2 separate regions of the Homo sapiens genome follow, and region 1 is linked to region 2. Evidence: promoter capture Hi-C in human tissues and cell types (Jung and others, 2019). All regions are on one chromosome and are shown on one strand. Each heading gives the region's core, a stretch centred on a gene start or on the middle of the fragment in contact. The rest is flanking DNA. Distances are from core to core; before and after follow the strand shown.

Region 1 (6,094 bases), core at 2,716-5,215, 160 kb after region 2:
CCCGGAGCCCGGCGTCCCGGCCCCCTCCCGGCCTCCCACCCCCCACCCCCCGCGGCCGCGGCCTCACTCGGCGGACGGAGCCGGGAGCAGGAACCGGCGGCCGCTCATTGGCTACTGCGGAGGAGGGGAGGGGCGGGGAGGGAAGGGGGGAAGGATGCAGCGAGGGAGGGAGATGGGCCTTGAGGATGGGGGAGGCAGAGAGGGAGAGAGAATAGAAACAGAGGCAGAGAGCCCGAGAGGGGCAGAGGCACAAAGAGAGACAGGGCAGAGAGAGAAAGTCACGCCGAGACCTTGAGGCCGAGAAATCCAGGGACTCAGGTCTGGAGACTGAAGGAGACACAGAGACAGAGAGAGACAAAGAGGGAGAGAGACAGAGTTTAAGACCACCCCTCACCACCTAGGCGCAGAGATTCTGAGGCCTGGGAAGTGGAGAGGTCAGAGACCAGGAAGAGACAGAAAGAGACAGGGGGACGCCCAGAGGCCTGGGGCTGAGAGATGCTGAGACCCAGAGACCTTGAGCTTGGAGAAGAGACAGAGACAGAGGCAGAGAGAGAGAGACAGAGAGACAGAGAGAGACAGAGAGAGACTCTGAGAAGGAGAGACAGCAGGGACAATCCTGGGGGTCCCCTGACGAGGACTGGGGCTCTAGCCAGGCCTGGGGCGGAGCCTGGGGTCTGGACGGCTGCAGGAAGCGGGAGGGGGCGTCCCGGGCCGGGGTCCCTACAGCAGCGGGCGGGCGCAGAGCGGAGTCGGGTCCTGCAGCCGCCGCGGAGCCAGGAGCCGGGCCACCCCCCCCCCCCGCCGTGATGTCAGCGGGGCCACTCTTAAAGGGGCAGGCCGCCCGCCGAGGGTCGGAGCGGGGGCTGGGGCCTGCGGGCACTGGATGGGGGTGTCGCGGCGGTGATGAGGGAGAGAGGGGCAGCCCCAGCATCCACCCGGACCGGGTCATGGAAACCCAGGAGACTGCAGGGAAGAAGACGTGCCCGGGTCCGCAAGGAAGACTGCGAAGCTTTGGGGCTCAGTCCCCTCCAAACACACAGACAAGGCACACCGCTCCACTGGTCTGGCCCTGACCGGAGACTACATTTCCCATCAGCCCTGGCGGCAAGGAGCCGCACTTGGGGGAAGGGTCTGCCGCGAGGCCTGCGGGGAAATGTAGTCCATCTGCACGGTCCCCGGCACTCCCCAGACTCTCAAGTGGGTCAAGGGAAAGAGGCCCAGAAGGCGCGTCTGCCTGCCGTGTGCCTCCGTCGCCGATTCCTAGGCTCTCGGGTTCTGGCTGTTTTTGGTTGCTCTGGCGTGGGGGTCTCTTCCTCTGATCAGGTCTCTAGGTCTCTCAAGAAGAGGCCAGACTGTGATCTCCCCGCTTGGGAAGGACTTCTCCCCGGTGTCTGAGCCTGGGGGTGCATGTGAGCTTGCGTGGCTGCTCTGGTGAACACGGACGCGCTGGGTCTCTGCGCGGGGGTCGCCACCTGGCACTCTCAGTGATCTCCGTGCCCCTCTCTCGCTGTGCACTGTCCACGTTGGTGCCCTCTGTGATATTTTCTCTCCCTGTCTCTGTCTGTCTGGGTCTCCTGCCTCTGTCTGCGCGCGCTTCTCTGCTTGCTCCCCTGCAGTGGGTGTCTCCCCTCTCACTTTGTGGGTCTCCGTGCTTTCCTTCTCTGTTTGTGTCTATGTACAGTCACTGTCCCGCCTCCACACCCCGTTCATTCTCCAAGCTTACAAGAAAATATCCAAACACTTCAGCATCAGCATCCCAAATTTATTCTCCAGCAGCTGTGGCCGGGTGGGAGAGGCTAAGGGAAGAGGAGGGGAGGAGGAGAGTCCCAGAGAGTGGCAGGCACTGGGGAGAGTTGGGGTGGGTCCGAGCCAGACAGGAGCCATGCACGGCAGGCGGGCTGCGGGGAGAAGTGATGGCTTCGGGATGGGGAAGTCTAGAACAAAAGCTGATTGGGAGCCTCTGGGGAAAGAATCCTCCATATATCCCAGAAATCCCCAGAGCACAGCAGCGGGACGTACTGGAGGAGGGGGGCACGCCTCCCACTCATCTAGAACTAGAGTGGAGGCGGGGAGCCTCGGAGGCCGAGGGCTGTTCTGGAACCTGAGTCTGGAACAGCCAACCCCGTGAGGCTATTTCCCCAGGGGCGGGGTCTGGGGGGAGGCACAGAACTACCAAGATGGAGTCTCGAACCCCATGGAGTTGGGGATGGTTAGTGGTGTGGTCTCTGGACCCGATTGGGGCAGAGTCCAGAACGCTAAGGTCAGGGAGAATATCGGGCTCCGCTCAAGTCTTGAACGCGGGACGGCTGTAGAGGCTGTATGGAGTTCAGAAGGCCAGGAACGCTTGGGAGGGGCGTCTAGAACCCGCGGGGGCAGAGCTGGAATGCTGGGGTGCAGGATCTAGAATGGGACAGGGGGTGGTGAAGTTGGGGGTGAAGTGGGGCTGCCGCCGGCACGGCGGAGGGGACGTTGGGGACACCTAGTGGCGGCGGGTGAGATTACATGACGGGCACAGGCACTGGGCTGGTGGGGCTGCGGGCATCCGGGTGCACGAAGTCGGGGTTCACGTAGGTGAAGCCCTGGAAATCGGCCTGGTCGATGCTGGCCAGGACTAGGCGGTCTGGAGGGGTCAGCGCTGGCGCCGCCCGCGTGAAGAACTTGTCAAAGTTCTCGCCGCTGCGGCCACACTGTGGGAGACGTGGGGGAGGGAAAGTTAAGCAGCTCCGAGGGCTCCTCGGGTGTCCCTCTGTGTACCCCAGTCTCATCTCCTGTCTCCTGCAGAATCTCTATTCATGCTTCATGGTGTCTGCACCTCCTTTTGTTGGGGGCGGGGGGCTCTGCAGAGGGAACCCCACCCCCACATACAGGTATATTGAGGCCCAGGGGAACCCCACCCCTTCAGGGACCAGGTTTTTGTTGCCTGGAGGGTGACTGACCGGGCGGGGTCTGAAAGGAGGCGGGATCTCCAATCGTTCCAGCCGCTCCCAGTCAATCCAGCGGAAAAAGCCATGTGCACGGATGGTAGGTTCCCCATCAGGCCCTGAGCCCAGGCGCTTCCCTGGGTGCTTGGTCAGGAACTGTGGGAAACACAGAGAGAGACAGACAGACAAACAGACAGAGTGCCGGACAGGTAGACCCAGAGAAAGAGGGACAGAGACAGGCAGATGGAGGAACCAAGAGACACAGGCATGAGATCCGGAGAGATAAGAACAGCCAGGGGAAACAGGCAAATGGAGGGAGGAAGGGAAAAGAAAGGAGAGAGAGAGAGAAGAAAAGAAGAAGAAGAAGAAGAAGAAGAAGAAGAAGAAGGAGGAGGAGGAGGAGGAGGAGGAGGAGGAGGAGGAGGAGGAGGGAGGAGGAGGAGGAGGGAGACAGACAGAGAGCGAGACAGAGAGAGACAGAGAGGAGAGAGAGAGGAAGAGGGACAGAGAGAGAGAGAGACAGAGGGTGAGAGTGAGTGAGAGAGAGAGAGAGAGAGACAGGAAGAAGGAGAGGATACATGAAAATGATAGCAGATGAAATTCATACCCAGAGACCCAGGGACACACAGAGAAACAGAACAAATCATGAGGGAGATGGAGAAGAGGAGAGGGAAAAGGGGTAGGGGGAGAGAGGGAAGGGGAGAGAGGGACGGGGAGAGGGAAGGGTAGGGGGAGGGAGGGAAGGGGAGAGTGAAGGACAGAGGGAGGTCGGTAGGGGGAGGGAGGGAAGGGTAGAGGAGATGAAGGGGAAGAGGGAGGGAATGGGGGAAGAGAGGTTGCAGACCCAGAGAAAAGGGGAAATAGAAATTCAGAGGGTGGTACAGAGACCCCAGGTAAGAAGGCAGAAACTCAGAGAAGGGAGGAGACAGAGGAGACCCAGGGGGACAGAGATTCAGAAAGAGAGAAGGATAGAGACCCAGGAAACACACACCCAGAGGGAGGAATAAAGACCAAATATGGGGACAGAGACCCAGAGAAAAGGGAGGACAGAAAGCCAGCAGGAGAGGAGGGTGAGATGTAGCGTGTGTGTATGAGAGTGGACACAGGAGGGGACAGAGATGGGGGGTAGGGGGGTTGGACAAAGGCCCAAAAGTGTAGACAGAGATGCAGAAGGAGACACAGAGAAAAGGAAGAAACACAGAGAGCCCCATCGTATGCAGATGGAGGGGAGGCATGAGACAGAAACCAGAGAGACTGTCAGGGAGATGCAGAGAGAGCAGCTAGACGCAGAAGGTGCTGACATGGGCTGAAAATCTGCTATGGGCCAGGTGCTTTCTTCTGTGTCAACTCCATAACCCCTGAAGAGAGTTAAGCTCACAAAGTTTTGGTGACTCACCCAAGTTCACACAGGAAGAAAAGCTGCAGAAGTTGGGTTTACCTGACCCACCCAGTTCTAGACAGACAGACACCCTGGACTTTCAGCACTTCCTGCAAGCAGGGAGCTGGGGAGTGGGAGTCACAGAGAAGGATGAGACAGAGGCCATCTCCAGGCCTCGTGGCAACAGGGCTGGAAATCATTGTTCTAACAAAACCTATGCATCATATCAACTTTTCCAACAGATGGAAGTAAAGTGACTTCAGGAATGGGAGCATTTTTCTAATAGGCACAGAGACAGCAATGGGGTGTGTGGTTGTGAGCCTGGAGAAGCTGGGAGTCAGGGGGCTCTCACCCCCTTGCAGATGGCCACGGCTTCCCGGGAAAGCGACTTGGGGTAGGTGACAGTTTGTTCCATGATGGCCTGAAACAGCTCCTCCTCGTCCTCCCCATCGAAGGGAGGCTATCAAAGTGGAGGGGATAGAGAGTCAGGGACATGCCCAACTGCCTTTCCCCAAACCTTCCACACCCTCCTCACCCCACCGGGAACATGCCTGACCCATCACACGCCCCACATGCACACCTGACCACACCCTCAGGAGAGATCAGACCAAACCACCAAAGCTTGATCTCTCTCCTTCTCAGGTTCTCTCATTTCCTATCTCGGATGCCTCAGATCTGTGCATCTCTGTACTATTCTGCCTCTCTTTATCTGCTATGTAAATCAGCAGGCTGTTAATTATGCAACATGTCAGTTAAATAGAAGAGAGGAAAAACTGCAGGAAACACCCTAAAAGCATTCTCCTGGTTGGATGAGTAGTTCACAGTCTTCTGAGGTTACAAAAAATGATACCAAGGCAAAGATTTAGAGATGGGGTTTCATCATATTGGCCAGGCTGGTCTCAAACTCCTGACCTCAAGTGATCTGCCCACTTCGGCCTCCCAAAGTGCTTGGATTACAGGCGTGAGCCACCATGTCCGGCCAAATTTTTTTTTAACTTCTAACTAAAATTTAGCATTCCCTTCAGTTATGAATGCAGGCAGCAGCAGTGCTTGTGGCTTCATTATCAATAGTAATCACAGGTATTTTCTCATCACATGAGAGTTGCAGATATTCCAAATTATTAGTCATTGCTACATCAAAATTACTGTTAGAGCTCCTTTTTACTTTACTACCATTAGAACTTACTACTTAATGAATTAATAAGAAATTGCACATATGTCCATTTTCCAATTTTAAATATTTAGACAACTGTATACATTGAATTTAGTTGGTTGTTAGATTCAATTAAATTTTAAAAGTTTTGGTGACTATCTTTCAAAATGATTGATTTCTTTTGTTTGTTTGTTCTTTTGAGATGGGGTCTTGCTCTGTCGCCTGTGCTGGAACACAGTGGCATACTCATAGTTCAGTGTAACCTTGAGTTCTTGGGCTCATGTGACCCTCCTGCCTCAGCCTCCCCAGTAGCTGGGACTATAGGTGCCCACTACCATAGCCAGCTAAGAAGATGATCAAGAGTGTGGTAACCAATTTTTTTAGTTGTAGTACACTCAGCAGTCCAGGAATCCAATCAAGCTGATTTAGAATGTATGTAATTGTCTAAGCTGACACAGCCAGTAAGTGGCAAAGTGAGGATTTGAACCTTGGTTTTCTGCGTATGTATTATTCTATTTTGTGCATTGAAAAACATTCTTCTGAGAAGGGATCCATAGGCTTAACCAGACTGCTACTTTACCATCTAGGGAGAAAGAATCCATGGTAACAGAACAAACAAAACAAAACAAAACAAAACACCTG
Region 2 (6,221 bases), core at 3,722-6,221:
TGTGAACTGTAGCCGCCCTGCTGTGCATTCAATCCATATGGGGTTCTTTAAACATCAGACTCTACCATGGGGACTTCACACGTTTCTCCACATGGGCACAAATGGTATTTTTTGTTTTTTTGTTTGTTTGTTTGTTTTGAGACAGAGTCTCGCTTTGTCGCCCAGGCCAGAGTGCAGTGGTGCGATCTCGGCTCATTGCAACCTCCGCCTGCCAGGTTCAAGTGATTCTCCTGCCTCAGCCTCCCAAGTGGCTGCAACTACAGGCACCTGCCACCATCTGGCTAATTTTTTTGTATTTTTAGGAGAGACGGGGTTTCGCCACATTGGTCAGGCTGGTCTCGAACTCCTGGCCTCAAGTGATCCACCTGCCTCAGCCTCCCAAAGTGCTGGGATTACAGGTGTGCACCACCGGGCATGGCCACAAATGGTGTTTAAAGTGCAATAGTCCTTCACCATGTGAGACTGTCTTGTCCATTATAGGAACACGTAACTCGACATTGCTAATACTTCCTTTCCCATTGAACACCTGTTGGAGACCTAATTATTGTGAAACAACAACAACAAAAAAGCCACTACTCTCATACCTTTCAAATATCCCTGGATGGGGCGATGGGAAGTGAGGGTGGTGCTCCCCCTGGTTGAAAAGCTGTGTTTGGATGCCGGGAGAAAACAATCTTCCTCCTCTTCCTTCCCCTCTAAGCTCAGCTCTGTTCTTCTCTAGCCATAGATCCCACAGCTGCCCAGGGAATGATGGGTTGGACCAGCTGAGCCTTAACCGCTTTCTGTGGAACCTGCACTCTCAGCTCTGTTGGGATCTGCTGTAGGGCAGGATGGTGGCTTTCTTCTTCCTGTACTTTTCACTGGGGACAGAGGACAGAATTGGGCACAATGAGCCACGTAATACTTTTTTTTTTTTTCTTTGAGACGGAGTCTCGCTCTGTCACCCAGGCTGCAGTGCAATGGCAAGATCTCGGCTCACTGCAACCTCCACCTCCTGGGTTTAAGCGATTCTCCTGCCTTAGCCTCCCAAGTCGCTGGGATTACAGGCGCCTGCCACCATGCCCAGCTAATTTTTGTACTTTTAGTAGAGATGGGGTTTCACCCATGTTGGCCAGGCTGGTCTTGAACACCTGAGCTCAAGTGATCAGCCCACCTCGGCCTCCCAAAGTGCTGGGATTGCAGGCTTGAGTCACCGTGCCCAGCCCTTAATACATTTTTGATAACTTGAATCAATACTTAAAACTTCAGAGTCAGATTGAGTAGTAGGTGACTCTCACCTGCGGGGAACTCTTCCTCCACACGAAGGGAAAAACATTGCTTCCTGTGTAATATTTATTAATACTTCCTCTCCGTTCTTTCTATTTTGTGCTTCTGGACCAGCATTTAGTCCAATATTGGGATATACATATTTATTTATTTATTATATTTATTTATTTTGAGACAGGGTCTCACTCTGTCGCCCAGGCTGGAGTGTAGTGGCTAGATCACGGCTCACTGCAGCCTCGACCTCCCAGGCTAAAGTAATCCTCCCATCTCAGCCTTCTGAGTAGCTGGGACCACAGGTGTGTGCCATCATGCCGGACTAAATTTTGTATTTTTTGTAGAAGCCGGGTTCCACCATATGGCCCAACTTGGTCTCGAACTCTTGGACTCAAGTGATCCTCTCATCTTGGCCTCCCAAAGTGCCAGGACTACAGGCGTTAGCCACTGTGCTTGGTCATATGTATTTATAATACATTCTTTCTTTCTTTTTTTTTGGAGAGGGAGTCTCACTCTGTCACCCAGGCTGGAGTGCAGTGGCGTAATTTCAGCTCACTGCAACCTCCCTCTCAGGTTCAAGTGACTCTCCTGCCTCAGCCTCTCAAGTAGCTGGGATTACAGGCGCCCACCACCATGCCTGGCTAATTTTTGTGTGTTAGTAGAGACGGGGTTTCACCATGTTGGCGAGGCTGGTCTCGAACTCCTGACCTCAAGTGATCTGCCCACCTTGGCTTCCCAAAGTGCTGGGATTACAGGCATGAGCCACCACGCCCAGCCTGTATTTATAATACATTTCTTTTACATTTTATTTTATATGTTTCCAACATTTTACCCAGTTTGGCAGGAATTCCATTCTATCCATGGCATCCATTTGCTTGTAATTGGTAGCCAGTCTTACTGGTGCAGATGTAAAATGTCAACAGTTGCCAGGTGCTGTGGCTCATGCCTATAATCCCAGCACTCTGGGAGGCCGAGGTGGGCGGATCACAAGGTCAAGAGATCGAGACCATCCTGGCCAATATGGTGAAACCCCATCTCTACTAAAAATACAAAAATTAGCTGGGCGTGGTGGTGCATGCCTGTAATCCCAGCTACTCAGGAGGCTGAGGCAGGAGAATTGCTGGAACCCGGGAGGCAGAGGTTGCAGTGAGCCGAGATCTCACCACTGCACTGCAGCCTGGGCGACAGAGCGAGACTCCGTCTCAAAAAAAAAAAAAAAAAAAAAGTCAACATTTATGTTTTGTTGTTACATTTTGTTTTCAAGATTTGTTGCTGTTTCTTGTTAATAGTCTTATTATTTTTCGTAAATATCATTCTTATTTTATAACTATTGTCTCCTCTGTTATAACTCTGAGGATGTGCTTATCAAAGCAATATTCCTCCTCTTCCTCCACTAACCACAGGTTGGTCCTTCTCTATCCACAGACCACACAGCTGCCAAGGGTAGCATGCGCTAGAGCTGCCGATCCTTAGAGTTTCCTGTGCAGCCAGCATTTCCAGCTGTTTGAGAGCCGCACCAGGACAGGACGATGGCTTTCTTCCCATCCTCCTCACTTAGGACAGGACGGGGTGGGCACAGGGACCCATCCAGCAAGTTATTATTTTTGTAGTTATTAAGATAGAAAGTATAGGCCGGGCATGGTGGCTCACACCTGTAATCCCGCCTCAGCCTCCCAAAGTGCTGGGATTACAGCGGTAAGTCATCATGCCCAGACGATTATTTTTTATTTGTATACGTTTATGGGGTACAAGTGTAACTTTATTGCATGGATAGATTCCAAAATGATGAAGTTAGGGCTTTCAGGTATCCACTAACCCAGTGACACACATTGTATCCATTAGATAATTCTTTTTTTTTGATGGAGTCTTGCTCTGTGACCCAGGCTGGAGTGCAGTGGCGTGATCTCAGCTCACTGCAACCTCCGCCTCCCGGGTTCAAGCGATTCTCCTGCCTCAGCCTCCTGAGTAGCTGGGACTATGGGCGTGTGCCACCACGCCCGGCTAATGTATCCATCATCATAACACACAACCATTTGAATGAATCTCACAGGCATTGTGCTGAGTGAAAAAGGTCACCCTCAGAAGGTGAGGCGATGGACGATTCCATTTATACAAGAGTCTCAAAGTGACAAAGTGATAGAGACGTAGAACAGATTAGCAGGTGCTAGGGTGGGAGAGCGATTATAAAGGGGCAGCATGAGGGAGTTCCTACGTGGTGGTGGGACAGTTCTGTGTCTTGATTGTGGCGGTGGTTCTATAAAGCCATACATACAGGCAATAAAATGTTACAGAACTATACCCATAGGCAAAGAAAAGGGAGGAGGAAAAGAAGGTGGAAGAGGAGGAAGAGCAGGAGAAAAGAAGGAAAAGGAGAAAAGGAAATAGAAATAGAAGGAAGAGGAAGAGAAAAAGAGAAACGAATTATGCACAAACTGGTGAGATCTGAGTGACCTCTGGAACCTGGTTAAACGTGTGATGCCAGTGCAAAGTCTCTGGTTTTGAAAATGTGCCATACGCCGGGCGTGGTGGCTCACGCCTGTAATCCCAGCAGTTTGGGAGGCCGAGGCAGGCGGATCGCCTGAGGTCAGAAGTTCGAGACCAGCCTGGGCAACATGGCAAAACCTCGTTTCTACTAAAAAGAACAAAAAAAATTAGCCAAGAGTGGTGGCGGACACCTGTCATCCCGGCAACTCGGGAGGCTGAGGCAGGAGAATCGCTTGAACCCGGGAGGCAGAGGTTGCAGTGAGCCAAGATTGTGCCACTGCACTCCAGCCTGGCTGACAGAGATTCTGTCTCAAAAAAAAAAAAAAAAAAAAAAAGTACTGTAATTATAAGAGATTACCATTGGCCGGGCACAGTGGCTTATGCCTGTAATCCCAGCACTTTGGGAGGCTGAGGTGGGCGGGTCACTAGAGACCAGGAGTTCAAGACCAGCCTGGCCCACATGGTGAAATCCCATCTCTACAAAAAATTAGCTGGGTGTGGTGGTGCATGCTTGTAATCCCAGCTACTTGGGAGTCTGAGGCAGGAGAATCCTTAAACCCATGAGGCAGAGGTTGCAGTGAGCCGAGATCGCGCCACTGCACTCCAGCCTGGGTGACAGAGCAAGACTCTGTCCCCCCCGCCCCCCAAAAAAAGGTTAACATTGTGGGGAGCTGGCTAGTGGGTACACGGAAGCTATAAAGCTATAGGTATTAATGTTTGTTTGTTTGCTTGTTTGAGACAGTTTCACCGTTGTTGTCCAGGCTGGAGTGCAGTGGCACAATCTTGGCTCACAGCAACCTCCGCCTCCTGGGTTCAAGCCATTCTCCTGTCTCAGCCTCCGGAGTAGCTGGGATTACAGGCATGCGCCACCATGCCTGGCTAATTTTGTATTTTTAGTAGAGACGGGGGTTTCTCCATTTTGGTCAGGCTGGTCTTGAACTCCCGACCTCAGGTGATCCGCCCGCCTCAGCCTCTCAAGGTGCTGGGATTACAGGCGTGAGCCACCGCGTCCGGCCGGTATTAGTGTTTTAAAATAAAAAATTACATTTACAGAAAACTCTTGGCAGAACTTCAGATAAGGTAGGACAGAGCTCGGGCGGGTGGGGCCACACACACCGGATTCATGGGGAAGAAGTTATCATCGACGGCTTCTTGTTTCCTGAGTCGGTTGTGAGAAGGAAACTGCAAGAGTGGGGCAGAGAACCAGAGTGTCAGAGCAAAACCTCCTCTATCTGCACATCCTGGGGACGAACCGGGCAGCCGGAGAGCTGCGGCCGGCCCAGTCCCGCTCCGCCTTTGAAGGGTAAAACCCAAGGCGGGGCCTTGGTTCTGGCAGAAGGGACGCTATGACCGCAGAATTCCTCTCCCTGCTTTGCCTCGGTGAGTCTCCAGGACTGGGACGAATGGGCTTGGGCTGGTGAGAAAAACTCATGTGGGAGTGGCAGTCCAGGTGGAAATGCGGTGTGTGGAAGTAATGACTTCCAGGTGTTGCACACCTGCGGTGGGTGGGTCTGGGCTGTGGGTTCTGTGAGTTCTGCCGCCCACATGCAAGCGAGGAGGAGGCCGCGCTGCAGAGACACGGGGACAGACTCCGCTGGGAAAGGCAGAGCTGCTGTGGGGTCTCCGAGTCTGCAGCCGCTAAATACCGCAGTACTGCCATCATCCTCCGTCGGAATAGAGGAGGGCTGGGCTTAGGGATCTACAGGGTGCAAGGCTGTGGGCAAAAAGACAATTTTCTTCTCTCTCTCTCTTATTTATTTATTTATGTATGTATGCATTTATTTATGAGACAGAGTCTCACTCTGTAGCCCAGGCTGGAGTGCAATGGCGTGATCTGGGCTCACTGCAACCTCCGTCTCCCAGGTTCAAGCGATTCTCCTGCCTCAGCCTCCCGAGTAGGTGGGACTACAGGTGCAGGCCACCACACCCGGCTGACTTTTGTATTTTAAGTAGAGACGGGGTTTCACCATGTTGGTCAGGCTGGTCTCGAGCCCCTGACCTCAGGTGATCCGCCCGCCTCAGCCTCCCAAAGTGCTGGGATTACAGGCGTGAGCCACCACACCTGGCCCCAAGAAGACAATTTTCTGACCAGCTCGATTCTTAGGCTGATTTTAACCATCCTCCAATTGAACCTGATGTATTCAGACAGAGCTCACACTGTGAAACGGATGACCTGGGTTATAATCTCGGCTTTACTACATAGAAACTCTAGGCTTGACCCAGCAGAGCTCCACCTCCCTAAGGCCCCAGTTCCTCCCTGGTGCACGGGGGGTGCGGTGGACATCGACGTGCTTCGTCTGCTTCAGTTCCTTCCTCCTTTTCTGGGTGCAGCCCTTCCTTGTGGGGTAATGCTCGTCTCCTACACACATTTGCACCTTAGATGAGCATTTTTTTTTTTTTTTGACAGAGTCTTGCTTTGTCTCCCAGGCTGGAGTGCAGTGGTGTGATCTCAGCTCACTGCAACCTCCACCTCCTGG

What was found. Contacts are between HindIII fragments. The study calls those that stand out against the background at their distance.
Region 1: a contact is called between a fragment that was not itself captured here and the fragment with the promoter of VSTM1 in region 2, in 4 of the 25 tissues and cell types used here (liver, mesendoderm cells, spleen and 1 more).

The regions. Positions count from the first base shown.
Region 1 is chr19:53,903,300-53,909,393 of GRCh38, reverse strand. It overlaps PRKCG (protein kinase C gamma), which reads right to left. Exons shown (of 18, transcript NM_002739.5): 16 at 4,652-4,759; 17 at 2,937-3,077; 18 at 1,742-2,687. The coding sequence ends at 2,499. It overlaps CACNG7 (calcium voltage-gated channel auxiliary subunit gamma 7), which reads right to left and starts at 116. Exons shown (of 6, transcript NM_031896.5): 1 at 1-116. RefSeq lists an enhancer at 1,490-2,031. The HindIII fragment of the contact is 5,202 bases long and covers 1,365-6,094 here.
Region 2 is chr19:54,062,647-54,068,867 of GRCh38, reverse strand. It overlaps VSTM1 (V-set and transmembrane domain containing 1), which reads left to right and starts at 4,971. Exons shown (of 9, transcript NM_198481.4): 1 at 4,971-5,124. The coding sequence starts at 5,091. The HindIII fragment of the contact is 40,052 bases long and covers 1-6,221 here.